Linked DNA regions of Homo sapiens: all the other regions are linked to region 1. Evidence: promoter capture Hi-C in human tissues and cell types (Jung and others, 2019). All regions are on one chromosome and are shown on one strand. Each heading gives the region's core, a stretch centred on a gene start or on the middle of the fragment in contact. The rest is flanking DNA. Distances are from core to core; before and after follow the strand shown.

Evidence for each region. The method cuts DNA at HindIII sites, captures the fragments that hold promoters and counts their contacts. A contact is called where the count stands out against the background at its distance.
Region 2: a contact is called between a fragment that was not itself captured here and the fragment with the promoter of ZNF738 in region 1, in 1 of the 25 tissues and cell types used here (H1 embryonic stem cells).
Region 3: a fragment that was not itself captured here is called in contact with the fragment with the promoter of ZNF738 in region 1 in 1 of the 25 tissues and cell types used here (mesenchymal stem cells).

The regions. Positions count from the first base shown.
Region 1 is chr19:21,357,152-21,361,559 of GRCh38, reverse strand. ZNF738 (zinc finger protein 738) reads right to left here and starts at 2,560. Exons shown (of 5, transcript NM_001355237.2): 1 at 2,417-2,560. The coding sequence starts at 2,419. RefSeq lists enhancers at 2,199-2,498, 3,290-3,847. The HindIII fragment of the contact is 7,981 bases long and covers 1-4,408 here.
Region 2 is chr19:21,826,862-21,831,269 of GRCh38, reverse strand. All of the region lies in intron 1 of ZNF43 (zinc finger protein 43), which reads left to right. It also overlaps the pseudogene BNIP3P27. Among named protein-coding and RNA genes, the nearest start is that of ZNF43, 7.1 kb to the left of the region's middle. The HindIII fragment of the contact is 5,891 bases long and covers 1-4,408 here.
Region 3 is chr19:21,725,057-21,729,464 of GRCh38, reverse strand. It overlaps ZNF100 (zinc finger protein 100), which reads left to right. Exons shown (of 5, transcript NM_173531.4): 5 at 1,476-4,408. The coding sequence ends at 2,782. Among named protein-coding and RNA genes, the nearest start is that of ZNF100, 40 kb to the left of the region's middle. The HindIII fragment of the contact is 4,592 bases long and covers 1-4,408 here.

The DNA of each region.
Region 1 (4,408 bases), core at 1,311-3,810:
AGATAAAAGGAAAAGACACACAGAGATTTTTTGCAACACAGTGTCAGGGGATTATTATTTGCTTTCTTTTCATGGAAAATATTTACAAACAGATAACAAACCTTCTTAAAAGTACCATTGGTCTGGGTGTGGTGGCTCACGCCTGTAATCCCCACACTTTGGGAGGCCGAGGCGGGCGGATCACCTGAGGTCGGGAGTTCGAGACCAGCCTGACCAACATAGAGAAACCCTGTCTCTACTAAAAATAAAAAATTAGCCGGGCGTGGTGGCTGGCACATGCCTGTAATCCCAGCTACTCGGAGGCTGAGGCAGGAGAATCGCCTGAACCCGGGAGGCAGAAGTTGCGGTGAGCCGAGACCATGCCACTGTACTCCAGCCTGGGCAACAAGAGCAAAACTCCGTCTCAAAACAAAAAACAAACAAAAAAACCCCCAAAACACCATTTATGCAGGGCGCAGTGGCTCACGCCTGTAATCCCAGCACTTCGGGAGGCCAAGGCGGGCGGATCACCTGAGGTCGGGAGTTCATGACCAGCCTGACCAACATGGAGAAACCCTATCTCTTCTAAAAATACAAAATCAGCTGGGCGTGGTGGTGCATGCCTGTAAACCCAGCTACTTGGGAGGCTGAGGCATGAGAACCTCGTGAACCCGGAGGCGGAGGTTGTGGTGAGCCGAGAATGTGCCTTTGCAACAAGAGTGAAACTCCGTCTCAAAAAAAAAAGAAAAGAAAAAAGCACCATTTAATGCCTTGCCAAAAAATAATTAATTAAAATACGGTATAAAAAAGTACACTACAAAATAAGTGGCCAGGCCCGGTGGCTCACGCCTGTAATTCCAGCACTTTGGCAAGCTGATGCGGGCGGATCACCTGAGGTCAGGAGTTCGAGACCAGCCTGGCCAGCATGGTGAAACCCCCGTCTTTACAAAAACACAAAAATTAGCCAGGTATGATGGCGCGCACCTGTAATCCCAGCTACTAAGGAGGCTGAAGTGGGAGAATTGTTTAAAACCGGGAGGCGGAGGTTGAGGTGAGCCGAGATCGCGCCATTGCACTCCAGCCTGGGAGACAGAGCGAGACTCCATCTCAAAAACAAAACAAAACAAACAAAAAAACACAAATACGTGATAATGTGAATTAGGGAGGAAAAGCTGGCATTTGGGAACCCCAGAAGAAATTGGAAATTTAGTATCTTACTGCAAGCAAGAATGAGGTTGGAGTAATGAGGGATGGGGGTTAGACTTAAGACCCTGATTGGGACCCAGGTGAAAAATGCAGCAGAAAATCAGTTCCCTGTGGAGTGTGAAAATAATTAAGTGGCAGGCAATTAGACTGAGGTTTCTCTAGTCCCTGGGTTCCTACTTCAATTTAAAAAATCTAACTCAGGCGCATTATTTTTAATTACTAAATTCAGAGAAACAAAATTGAGGCTTCACCTACTATAAACTGCCAATTGAGCTCCGATTACATAACCAGGAAATTTTCACCTTTAATGTACAAATTAAAAAACCACGTAACTGTACCTAACCAATTACTAAATTTGGTTTTCTTCATCATGCATTTTACAAAAGACTTTCTTTCAAGCCTCTCCCATAGACCACAAACTAAAAACCACAGCTTGGTGCTCTACAATTCTAGAACCACTTTTTGATTAAATTATTTAATAAGTTAATTTTTTTTTTGAGACAAGAGTCTCGCTCTGTCGCCCAGGCTGGAGTGCAGTGGCACGATCTCGGCTCACTGCAAGCTCTGCCTCCTGGGTTCACGCCATTCTCCTGCCTCAGCCTCCTGAGTAGCTGGGACTACAGGCGCCCGCCACCACGCCCGGCTCATTTTTTGTATTTTTAGTAGAGACGGGGTTTCACCGTGTTAGCCAGGATGGTCTTGATCTCCTGACCTCTGATCCGCCCACCTCGGCCTTCCAAAGTGCTGGGATTACAGGCGTGAGCCACCGCGCCCAGCCTAGAACCACTCTTTGATTAAATTCTTTTAATATTTTTGCAGTGACTCCCATTAACTTTTAATAGGAGATAATAGGAACTGGGAACCCCACGGAACAAACCTCTTCCCATTCATGAACCCGCACCCCAAGTCAGGATTCTCCCCTGACGACCCTCCCACGGTCCCTGCACAATCCGGTAGAGAAGCGGCGCTGCGGGTGCAGAGATTCCCCAGAGAGGGCTCCAGGCAAGGGCACAGTCACTATGCAGGGAAGAGACAGGACGCCCGGGGGCCGGGCTGTCGGCGCAACCGCCATCTTATGGCTGAAGGCGACTGAGGCCGAGCTGGGCAAGGAGAACTCGGGGCGCAGATTGTAGAGCTGACTGCGGGGAGGCCTGAGTCTCGCCACAGCCACTTCCCACCGGTTCCAACCAGCCCTTCCCCTCTCTCGGGATGTTGGACCCCGCACTCTCACCATTTCTAGGCTTCCAGGGTGTCCCGGCGTCTTAGCTGTGGATTCCCAATACCTGCAGGTCACAGGACCAGAGGCTGGGCCTCTAGGAGCAGAGGACACAGAGCAGTGAAGACGAGACCCGGAGTTCCAGCGGCAGCCAAAGACAAAGAAGCGGACAAATCCCGCCACATCCCGGAAGCCGTCCTCTCCGCTCAAGCTGCGTGCCTGATTGGACAGTTCCCAGCCCAGCGTCGCTGATTGGATAACGTTTAAAACCCCACCCTCTCAGGCCCTGACTGACAGAAGATGTAATTAGATGCTGGGCTGAATGAAGAAAGAGTGACCGCCTAGGCTGCAGCCTTTTCAGGCAGGGCTTCCTCCTTGAGCTGAGATAGGCCCACCCCAAAGGGTATTTGCATTCAACCTTGCGTATAAGGTCATATGCATTTGTAAATACTATATCATATGGCTATACATAAATGAAAAGGATATAATAACAAATGTTTTAAAATTTCAGGGTTTTTTTACTTTCCTGGCTTACGGTCCTTTGAGCAGGCAGCCTGAGATTTTAAAAAGGAGGTAATCCTCTGAAATAAAATGTGAGCCACGTGAATTTTGAATTTTCTGGTAGCCAAACTAGAAAATTAAAAAGAAACAAGGGGCCAGGCATGGTGGCTCACGCCTGTAATCCTAGGACTTTAGGAGTACAAGGCGGGCAGATCAAGAGGTCAGGAGTTTGAGACCAGCCTGGCTAACATGGTGAAACCACGTCTCTACTAAAAATACAAAAATTAGCCGGGCGTGGTGGTGGACATCTGTAATCCCAGCTACGCAGGAGGCTGAGGCAGGAGAATTGCTTGAACCCGGGAGGCGGAGGAGGTTGCAGTGAGCAGAGATCGCGCCACTGCACTCCAGCCTGGGCGGACAGAGCGAGACTCCGTTTTGGGGGGTGAAAAATATAAAGAAACAAGAGGCCACGCGCAGTGGCTCACGCCTGTAATCCCAGCACTTTGGGAGGCCGAGGCTGGTGGATCACGAGATCAAGTGATTGAGACCCTCCTGGCAATATGGCTAAACCCTGTCTCTACTGAAAAAAATATAAAAATTAGCCAGGCGTGGTGGCGCATGCCTGTAATCCCAGCTACTGGGGAGGCTGAGGCAGGAGAATCGCTTGAACCCGGGAGGCAGAGGTTGCAGTGAGCCGAGATTGCGCCACTGCACTCCAGCCTAGTGACAGACTGCAACAACAGCAACAACAACAACAACAATAACAAGGAACAGGTTGAATTGATTGTAACAATGTAATTAACCTAATATATACAAAATATCATTTTAATGTGTGAGGAATATGTAATTATTAATGAAGTATATAAATATTTGCAACTAAATTTTTGAAAATAACTCTGTGTTTTACCTTTCTAGCATATCGCGGTTCAGACCAAGCACATTCCAGGCACCCAGGAGCCACACATGGCAGCTCTGATGTCAATGGTGTGAAGGGCCAGAGGGGAAGGAAGGGCCTCTCCCTACTAACATCTATCTTCAGTTCTGAGGTTGGAACAGATAGTGGCCATAGAAAGAGCTGAGGGCAGCAGAAATAAAATAACCACAGGTAAACCACTGCTTACCACCTGTTGCCCACCTTTCTTTTAGAGATTAGGCTGTGAACATAGGATGATGGAGCTTAGGAGAAAAAAACTCTGTGTCTTCAGTTCTGCCCACATTCTTGGACTCCAGTGTTTAGATACAGAGAAAATAGATTAAAGGCAAACTTATTTTGCTATTTGGCCTTGACCCTAATTGCGAGGCTGTGGTTATCTGTTTTCTCCTGTGGTGTGGGGACTGTGCGAATATAAACACCAATCACATGCATACATGTCTCCCAGTATTTCTGCATTACCCAACATTCTCTTTCAAGACATCCAACTTTAAATTAGGGGAAGAAATCAGTACCTAGAGGGTGCCCACTGTTAGAAGGCAACAAGTAATCAACCTGTCACTGAATCCTGGCAT
Region 2 (4,408 bases), core at 1,002-3,501, 470 kb before region 1:
TTTATCTTGCCTGATTGCTCTGTCCAGTATTTCCAATGCTATGTTGAATAGGAGTGATGAGAGAAGGCATCTTTGTCTTGTGCCAGTTTTCAAAGAGAAATGCTTCCAACTTCTGTGTGTCCATTCAGTGTATTGGCTTTGAGTTTGTGACAGATAACTCATTATTTTGAAGTATGTACCTTTAATGCCTAGTTCGTTGAGGGTTTTAACATGAAGAATGTTAAATTTTCTTGAAAGATTTTTCTGCATCTATTGAGATAATCTTGTGGTTTTGGTCTTTAGTTCTGTTTATGTGATTAATCACATTTATTGATTTGTGTATGTTGAAATAACCTTGCATCCCAGGGATATAGGCTACTTGATCATAGTAGATTAGCTTTTTGATGTGCTGCTGGATTCAGTTTGCCAGTATTTTGTTGAGAATTTTTCCATCATTTTTTATTAAGATCATTGGCATGAAGTTTTCTTTTTTTGTTTTATACCAGGTTTTGGTATCAGAATAATGCTATTATGTAATGAGTTGGGGAAGAGTTCCTTCTCAATTTTTTGGAATGGCTCTAGTAAGAATGGTATCAGCTTTTTTTTTTTTGTACATCTGGTAGAATTCTTTTGTGAATATGTCTGATTCTGGTTTTTTATTGGTTTCTAGGCTATTTATTATACTTCAATTTTGAATCTTGTTGGTCTCTTCAGGGATACTTTTTTTTTTTTTTTCAGTCTTTGGAGGATGTACGTGTCTAGGAATTGATCTATTCTAGATTTTCCGGTTTGTTTACATAGAGGTGTTCGTTACAGACTTGAATAATTATTTTGTTGTTGTTGGGTCAGTGTTAATGGCCATTTTGTCATTTCTAATCGTGTTTATTTGGATCTTCTCTTTCTTCATTAATCTCTCTAGAGTGCTATTTATCTTATTAATTCTTTCAAAGATTTTACTCCTGGATTTCTTTTTTTGTTTGTTTGTTTGTTTTTTGTTTTGTTTTTTTTTTTCATTTTGTTTTTGAAACAGAATCTCTCTCTATTGCCCAGGCTGGAGTGCAGTGGCACAACCTTGCCTCACTGCAACCTCCGCCTCACTGCAACCTCCGCCTCCCTGGTTCAAGCAATTCTCCTGCCTCAGCCTCCTGAGTAGCTGGGATTACAGGTGCCCACCAATACACATGGCCAATTTTTGTATTTTTAGTAGAGACCGGGTTTCACTATTTTGCCAGGCTGGTCTCGAACTCCAGACCTCAAGTGATCTGCCCACCTCGGCCTCCCAAAATGCTGCGATTACAGGGGTGAGCCACTGCACCCAGCCTTCTCCATATTTTTATCATTTTTTTGTCTAACTCTCCAGTTCAGATCTGATTTTCATTTCTTGTCCTCTGTTAGCTTAGAGGTCAGTTTGCTTTTTCTTCTCTTGTTCTTTTATGATGTCAGGTTTTGTGTTTTTTTGTTTTTTGAGACGGAGCTCAATGAATCCAATGTCTACTGAAATTCAGATGTTCAAGAGTTCAATATGTCCAGAGACCTGGCTGTTGTAAAAGAAAATATAAATCAGAGGCTTTATTATCCTACCTGAAAATAAGAGAGACTATCTTGTTCAACTCTTTTATCTTAAAGCATTTAGATTATATGGAGATATTTTTATTGCTTTTTTGAAATATATTTAAATCATATTAACAGCCAAATCTTTTGGCATTCTTTTGACTCAAGATTGTCTTTATTTAAGACCTCAGATTCATTGCTTATCCTTGATTTGGGAAAATTTAATTTTTTTTTTAGTCTTTTAAAGTAGACACAGATTTGTTTAGATTAAAGCTCATTTTAAGAGCACACAGAAGTTTAGTACGAAGAACGAATTAAATTTAGAAATACAGAATGGTAAAAACTAAAAAATACTGAATAAATTTCTTTGACAGAAAACTGATAATCCAAGGTAATCTAATATTTGCAGGCTGAAGTACTTACACTGCAAAAGCAAGAACAGTTCAGTGTGTAAACTCAACCTTGGAGTCTGTGTAGTTTTTTTTGTGTGTGGTGTTTTTTGTTTTTTTTTCCTTTGTGATGGAGTCTCACTCTGTCACCCAGGCTCGAGTGCAGTGGCACGATCTCGGTTCACTGTGACCTCTGCCTCATGGGTTCAAGCGATTCTCCTGCCTTAGCCTCCTGAGTAGCTGGAGTAGCTGGGACTACAGGCACGTGCCACCACGTCCGGCTAATTTTTTTTTTTTTTTTTTTTTTTTTTTTTTTTTGAGACAGAGTCTCTCTCTTTCGCCCAGGCTGGAGTGCAGTGGCGCCATTTTGGCTCACTGCGATCTCCGCCTCCCTGGTTCACGCCATTCTCCTGGCTCAGCCTCCCAAGTAGCTGGGAGTATAGGCGCCCGCCAGGGCACCCGGCTATTTTTTTGTATTTTTAGTAGAGACGGGGTTTCACCGTGTTAGCCAGGATGGTCTCGATCTCCTGACCTCGTGATCTGCTCGCTGCGGCCTCCCAAAGTGCTGGGATTACAGGCGTGAGCCACCGCGTCCGGCTGTATTTTTTTTTTTTCCTTAAATTTACTTTTTTTGAGACGGAGTTTCACTCCTGTTGCCCAGGCTGGAGTACAATGGCATGATCTCAGCTTACTGCAACCTCCGCCTACTGGGTTCAAGTGATTCTCCTGCCTCAGCCTCCTGAGTAGCTGGGGTTACAGGCATGTGCCACCATGCCTGGCTAAATTTTGTACTTTTAGAGTAGAGACAGGGTTTCTCCATGTTGGTCAGGCTGGTCTCGAACTCCTGACCTCAGGTGATCCACCCGCCTCAGCTTCCCAAAGTATTGGGATTACAGGCATGAGCCACCGCGCCTGGCCTAATTTTTTGTATTTTTATGAGAGATGGGGTTTCACCGTGTTAGCCAGGATGGTCTCAATCTCCTGACCTTGTGGTATGCCCGCCTTGGCCTCCCAAAGTGCTGGGATTACAGGCATGAATCACCATGCCTAGCCTAAATAGTTATTTTAATATTCTTACTCATACTTTGAAATATAAAGTAGTTTTAACTGAAATATGGTTACAAACAATTTTTTAGAATACTACATACATTATGACTAGTACATTAAAGTTGGTTATACTTAGATATTTATATCTAATATCCAAAGAAAAGTCACTACCAAATTGTTACAATAGATATTAGTCTGACATGCTTATTAATTTATCCAATATGGATAATTACAGGGAAGCTTAATTTTAGTGTCTTTCATTTAACTAAATTGGAATGCTGCTATTACAGGACAGATAAAAACAGGTCAGGTGGCCACTCAAAAAATATAGTAGCTCTTCAGAGGCTGGGTACGGTGCCTTACGCCTGTAATCCCAGCACTTTGGAAGGCTGAGGCGGGTGGATCACCTGAGGTTGGGATTTCAAGGCCAGTCTGACCAACATGGAGAAACTCCAACTTTACTAAAAATACAAAATTAGCCATACATTGTGGTGCATGCCTGTAATCCTAGCTACTTGGGAGGCTGAGACAGGAGAATTGCTTGAACCTGGGAGGCGGAGGTTGCAGTGAGCCGAGATTGTGCCATTGCACTCCAGCCTGGGAAACAAAAGCTCAACTCCATCTCAAAAAAAAAAAAAAAATGGCCAGGCGCAGTAGCTCACACCTGTAATCCCAGCACTTTGGGAGGCCAAGGTGGGTGGATCACTTGAGGTTGGGAATTCAAGACCTGCTTGACCAACATGGAGAAACCCTGTCTCTGCCAAAAATAGAAAAATTAGCCAGGTATGGTGGTGCATGCCTGTAATCCCAGCTACTTGGGAGGCTGAGGCAGGAGAATCACTTAAACCTGGGAGGCGGAGGTTGCAGTGAGCCAAGATCGCACCATTGAACTCCAGCCTGGGCAACAAGAGGGAAACTTCATTTCAAAAAAAAAAAAACCACATAGTAGCTCTTCAGTTAGCAGTGTTGCAAGCTTGAATATATTACACTATATGAATAAACTCAAGATTTCAATTCTTCATCAAAAGGTGCATGTGGAAATTGTGAGATGTATTCCAATATGGAACTCCCATCCAATGGCTAGGAGATGAGACAGCAGCAGACATGGAAGAGAAACCTTAGAAAATTCTGCTGAGAATATATATTTTTTTCATAATGCTCATGTTTCTTGTGCTGAGAGTAGCTGTGCACTTCGTTTAGAGAGAAATTTGTTTAAGGGGAGTATTTTTGGTTGACTTGATCAATCTTTCATCTAATCTAAGTTTTTTCTTAAGATGCTTTGAACTTCTTTTTTTTTTTCTCAATACAGTGTTACTCAAATGGAGAGCTGTTTTTCTTTCTAATGCTTTGGGTGTCTGTTTCAGAAGCTCTGTTAGTGTCCCATGGTGCCTGTGAATGCACGATGAAAACTCTCGGAGTTATCATCATCTGAACTCATGCTG
Region 3 (4,408 bases), core at 940-3,439, 370 kb before region 1:
TTAGGTATTTCTCCTAATGCTATCCCTCCCCCCTCCCGAAAGTAATGTATTTTTATTTGACTGTGTTGTTTTTGTTGAATCATGTTATTTTCAATAGAAGCAACTGCTTTCAGTACATTTTGTATGTAGGGTTTATGGAGTTCCAATATACTTTTCAGAATTTTGTTACTTTTGAAAGTTATTTTCTTTTTATTTGGCAGGACAGATTTGCTGATAGTATTATGCTTACTTGATTGCTGTATTTTACAGGAGTTTGACTTTATTACACACTTCCCTTCTGGCCTGCAAAATTTTTATTGACAATTCACTGGCTGTCTCATAAGACTATGCTGGCAAATGACGCATCACTTTTATCTTGCAGCTCCCAAGGTTCTCTTGTCTGTGACTTTTGAAATTGTGCTTATATATGTGTTTGTTATAAATATCTTTGTGTGTTTCCTAGTTTGTTTGTTGAGCTTCTTCATCTTTACATCGTTTCTTTCAATATTTTTCAGCTATTCTTTTTTATATTTATTACCTCCACAATTTGTTTTTTTGATATTCTAAATATTTATGTTCTTATCTTCATTTTTCTGATTTTCTATAGTTCTCTGTCTTCCTGTTTCACTCACTGAGTATTATTCAATTTATTTTCAATTTTTAAAATCGGTGTGTATACATCTTTTTTATAGTTTCTTTTTTAAAATTTTATATTTTTATGGAACCATATTGCCTTATTTTGTATACATTGTAATCCTTGATTGAAATTTGGACATTAAAAAAGGCTACCTGTCACAATCTTTATAATGTAGCTTTGTCCTGGCATAGTCTGAACAATCGTCTTGGTTAGAGATTCTGGGAGTCTCTCAAACATGTTCTTAGAATGTGTCTTGTCTGAGATTTTGTCTTTCTCTTTTAGTTAAAGGAGTTTATTCATGTTTCTTCTTAATAATAATCACGTGCTACACCTGTTTTCTGTCTGTGGTACAGCAGTCTCTCTGTTGCTGAAACATTTACCTTTGGTCTCAGCAAAGTTAAGACTGTCACTCCAAAGTATACCACCGTTTCTTTCAGCATTATATTTCAAGAGAGACACAAACCAGTGTCTGGAAAGGCTCCTAGAAGCAAGTAATAAAGATAAATGTGCCAGTATTTTACTTGTCATTAAAAACAAGTTGGCAATTTACTTCTAAAGACAGTATGTTATATTGGGGAGCAGAAAGAGCTCTGTTGGGTAAATGTACAGACTTTTACTTCTAAGTGGCTCTTTGCATTGTTCTCACCAGGGGCACTTCACACACTTAACTCATTTATAATTTTTTTCAGATGTAATTTGGTTGGTTTTTTTTTTTTTACATTTATATGTCTATAAAGGAATGAGGGCCTTTGGTATTTTCCTATGCCATCTTATTTATGTAGTTTGTATATTAGAGGTTAGATTTGTAAACTATCTGTGTCTAGTAAGTAAAGTAATTTGTTATTTTTATTTCTTTCAGTTATATGTTCTCATTTTCCCCAAGACCTTTGGGCAGAGCAGGACATTAAAGATTCTTTTCAAGAAGCGATTCTGAAAAAATATGGAAAATATGGACATGACAATTTACAGTTACAAAAAGGCTGTAAAAGTGTGGATGAGTGTAAAGTGCACAAAGAACATGATAACAAATTAAACCAGTGTTTGATAACTACCCAGAGCAACATATTTCAATGTGATCCATCTGCAAAAGTCTTTCATACATTTTCAAATTCAAACAGACATAAGATAAGACATACTAGAAAGAAACCTTTCAAATGTAAAAAATGTGAAAAATCATTTTGCATGCTTTTACACCTAACTCAACATAAAAGATTTCATATTACAGAGAATTCCTACCAATGTAAAGATTGTGGCAAAGCCTTCAACTGGTTCTCAACCCTTACTACACACAGGAGAATTCATACTGGAGAGAAACCCTACAAATGTGAAGAATGTGGGAAAGCATTTAACCGGTCCTCACACCTTACTACACATAAGATAATTCATACTGGAGAGAAACCATACAGATGTGAAGAATGTGGGAAAGCTTTTAACCGGTCTTCACACCTTACTACACATAAAAGAATTCATACTGGAGTGAAACCCTACAAATGTACAGAATGTGGCAAAGCTTTTAACCGGTCCTCACACCTTACTACACACAGGATAATTCATACTGGAGAGAAACCCTACAAATGTGAAGAATGTGGCAAAGCCTTTAACCAGTCCTCAACCCTTACTACACATAAGATAACTCATGCTGGAGAGAAACCTTACAAATGTGAAGAATGTGGCAAAGCTTTTTACCGATTCTCATACCTTACTAAACATAAGACAAGTCATACTGGAGAGAAATTCTACAAATGTGAAGAATGCGGCAAAGGCTTTAACTGGTCCTCAGCCCTCACTAAACATAAGAGAATTCATACTGGAGAGAAACCCTACAAATGTGAAGAATGTGGCAAAGCTTTTAATGAGTCCTCAAACCTTACTACCCATAAGATGATTCATACTGGAGAGAAACCCTACAAATGTGACGAATGTGGCAAAGCCTTTAACCGGTCCTCACAACTAACTGCACATAAGATGATTCATACTGGAGAGAAACCCTACAAATGTGAGGAATGTGGCAAAGCTTTTAACCGATCCTCAACCCTTACTAAACATAAGATAACTCATACTGGAGAGAAATCTTACAAATGGGAAGAATGTGGTAAAGACTTTAACCAGTCCCTAAGCCTTATTAAACAAAATAACTCATACTGGAGAGAAACCCTACAAATGTGAAAAATGTGGCAAAGCCTTTTACCAGTCCTCAACTCTTACTAAACATAAAAAAATTCATACTGGAGGGAACTCCTGTGACTGTGAAGAATATGGCAAAGCCTTTAATAAATTCTCAATTCCTAACAGACATAAGATAATTCATACTAGAGAGAAATTCTACAAACCAGAAAGATGTGACAGTGCTTTGAAAACACCTCAAACTTTTCAAAACATAAATCATAGTGTTGAGAAATCCTAGAAATGTGAAGAATGTGATAAAGTTTTAAATGGTTGTCACACTTGATTGTAGGTAAGGTAAGTTATACTGGAGAAAACTTCTACATGTGTGAACAGTGTGACAAAACTTTTAACTAATGCTCACACCTTCACAGGAAAGCATTTATACTTGAGAAATATTGTACAAATATAAAGACTGTGAAAAAGCCATTAATACATGCTCACATCTTACTCAACATCAGAGAGTTCATACTCAATAAAAACATAAGTGCAACTACTGTCAAAATATCTTTAAGAAAATATAAGCTTTTAAAGTGAAGAGTATTTTGAAGAAGAACATTGTAGTAGAATTGTAATATGTTTACTTGTATCACAGATCTTACTGTACACGTTTTGTATTAGAGGAAACCTCTGAAGCAGTTGCTCAAACTTTGTTCAATATCAGGGAATTTATATTGAAAAAAACTGTGCGAATGTAATAAAGTTGGAAAAATACTTTTTCAAAAACTACAGCTTAGAAAACACCAGAGAGTTCATACTAAAACATATTTTTGCAGATACAGGAAAAATTTTTTAAAAATTTTAATCATTAAGTCTGTAAATATCAGAGAATTTACAGTAGAAATATGTAAGGCACTGATGCTTCAGGTATTTTACTAAATCAGAGTGCTGAGTATAGAAAATAATCTAAAACTAAAATTGGTAAAATATTTGTATATAACTTTAAAAGTAGAAATTTTTTGCAGTTATTGCATTCAAAGTATGCTTAACTTTTTGAAAAAATTAGATTTTTTGAAAAGTGAGTAATAATGTAATTCAACTCTTAAATTATTTCCTGCCTTTTCTTCACTCCTATTTACATGTGAAAGCATGTGATCAATTGTTGCTGCATCAGATATGAGAGATTCTTTTTTATTAGGTGAGCATTATTTATAAACTTTGCTATGAAAAAGACATTAAAATATGAGATGTATGATGAAAATCTAAGTGAAGAGACTTTTATGGTTAACTTATAATATTAAGCAATGTGTGCGTTAGGCATTCAGAGTAATATTCTGCATTATGAGAAAACTTAATTTCATTTATAAGTAAATTAAAATTAGTATATTTTACTAATACTTTTATATAAAATGCAGTATATTTTTTAAATTTCAGATTATATGTGATGTTAATATATTCAACCTTTTTAACATGTTAAATACTATTGTGCATTCAGTGAAGTGTTATTATGCCACAGACATTAACCTATTCCACCTTACTCAAGGGTGTACGTAAAACATGGTAACAGTATACTATTTGGTAACATAATGGATTAACATCTCTAGTAATCTCTTTTGCTAGTGGCTTTGACTGCAAATAAGTTAAAGAATATTATTTCTGTAGGTTAAATTTTTGTTTTTATTTTATTTT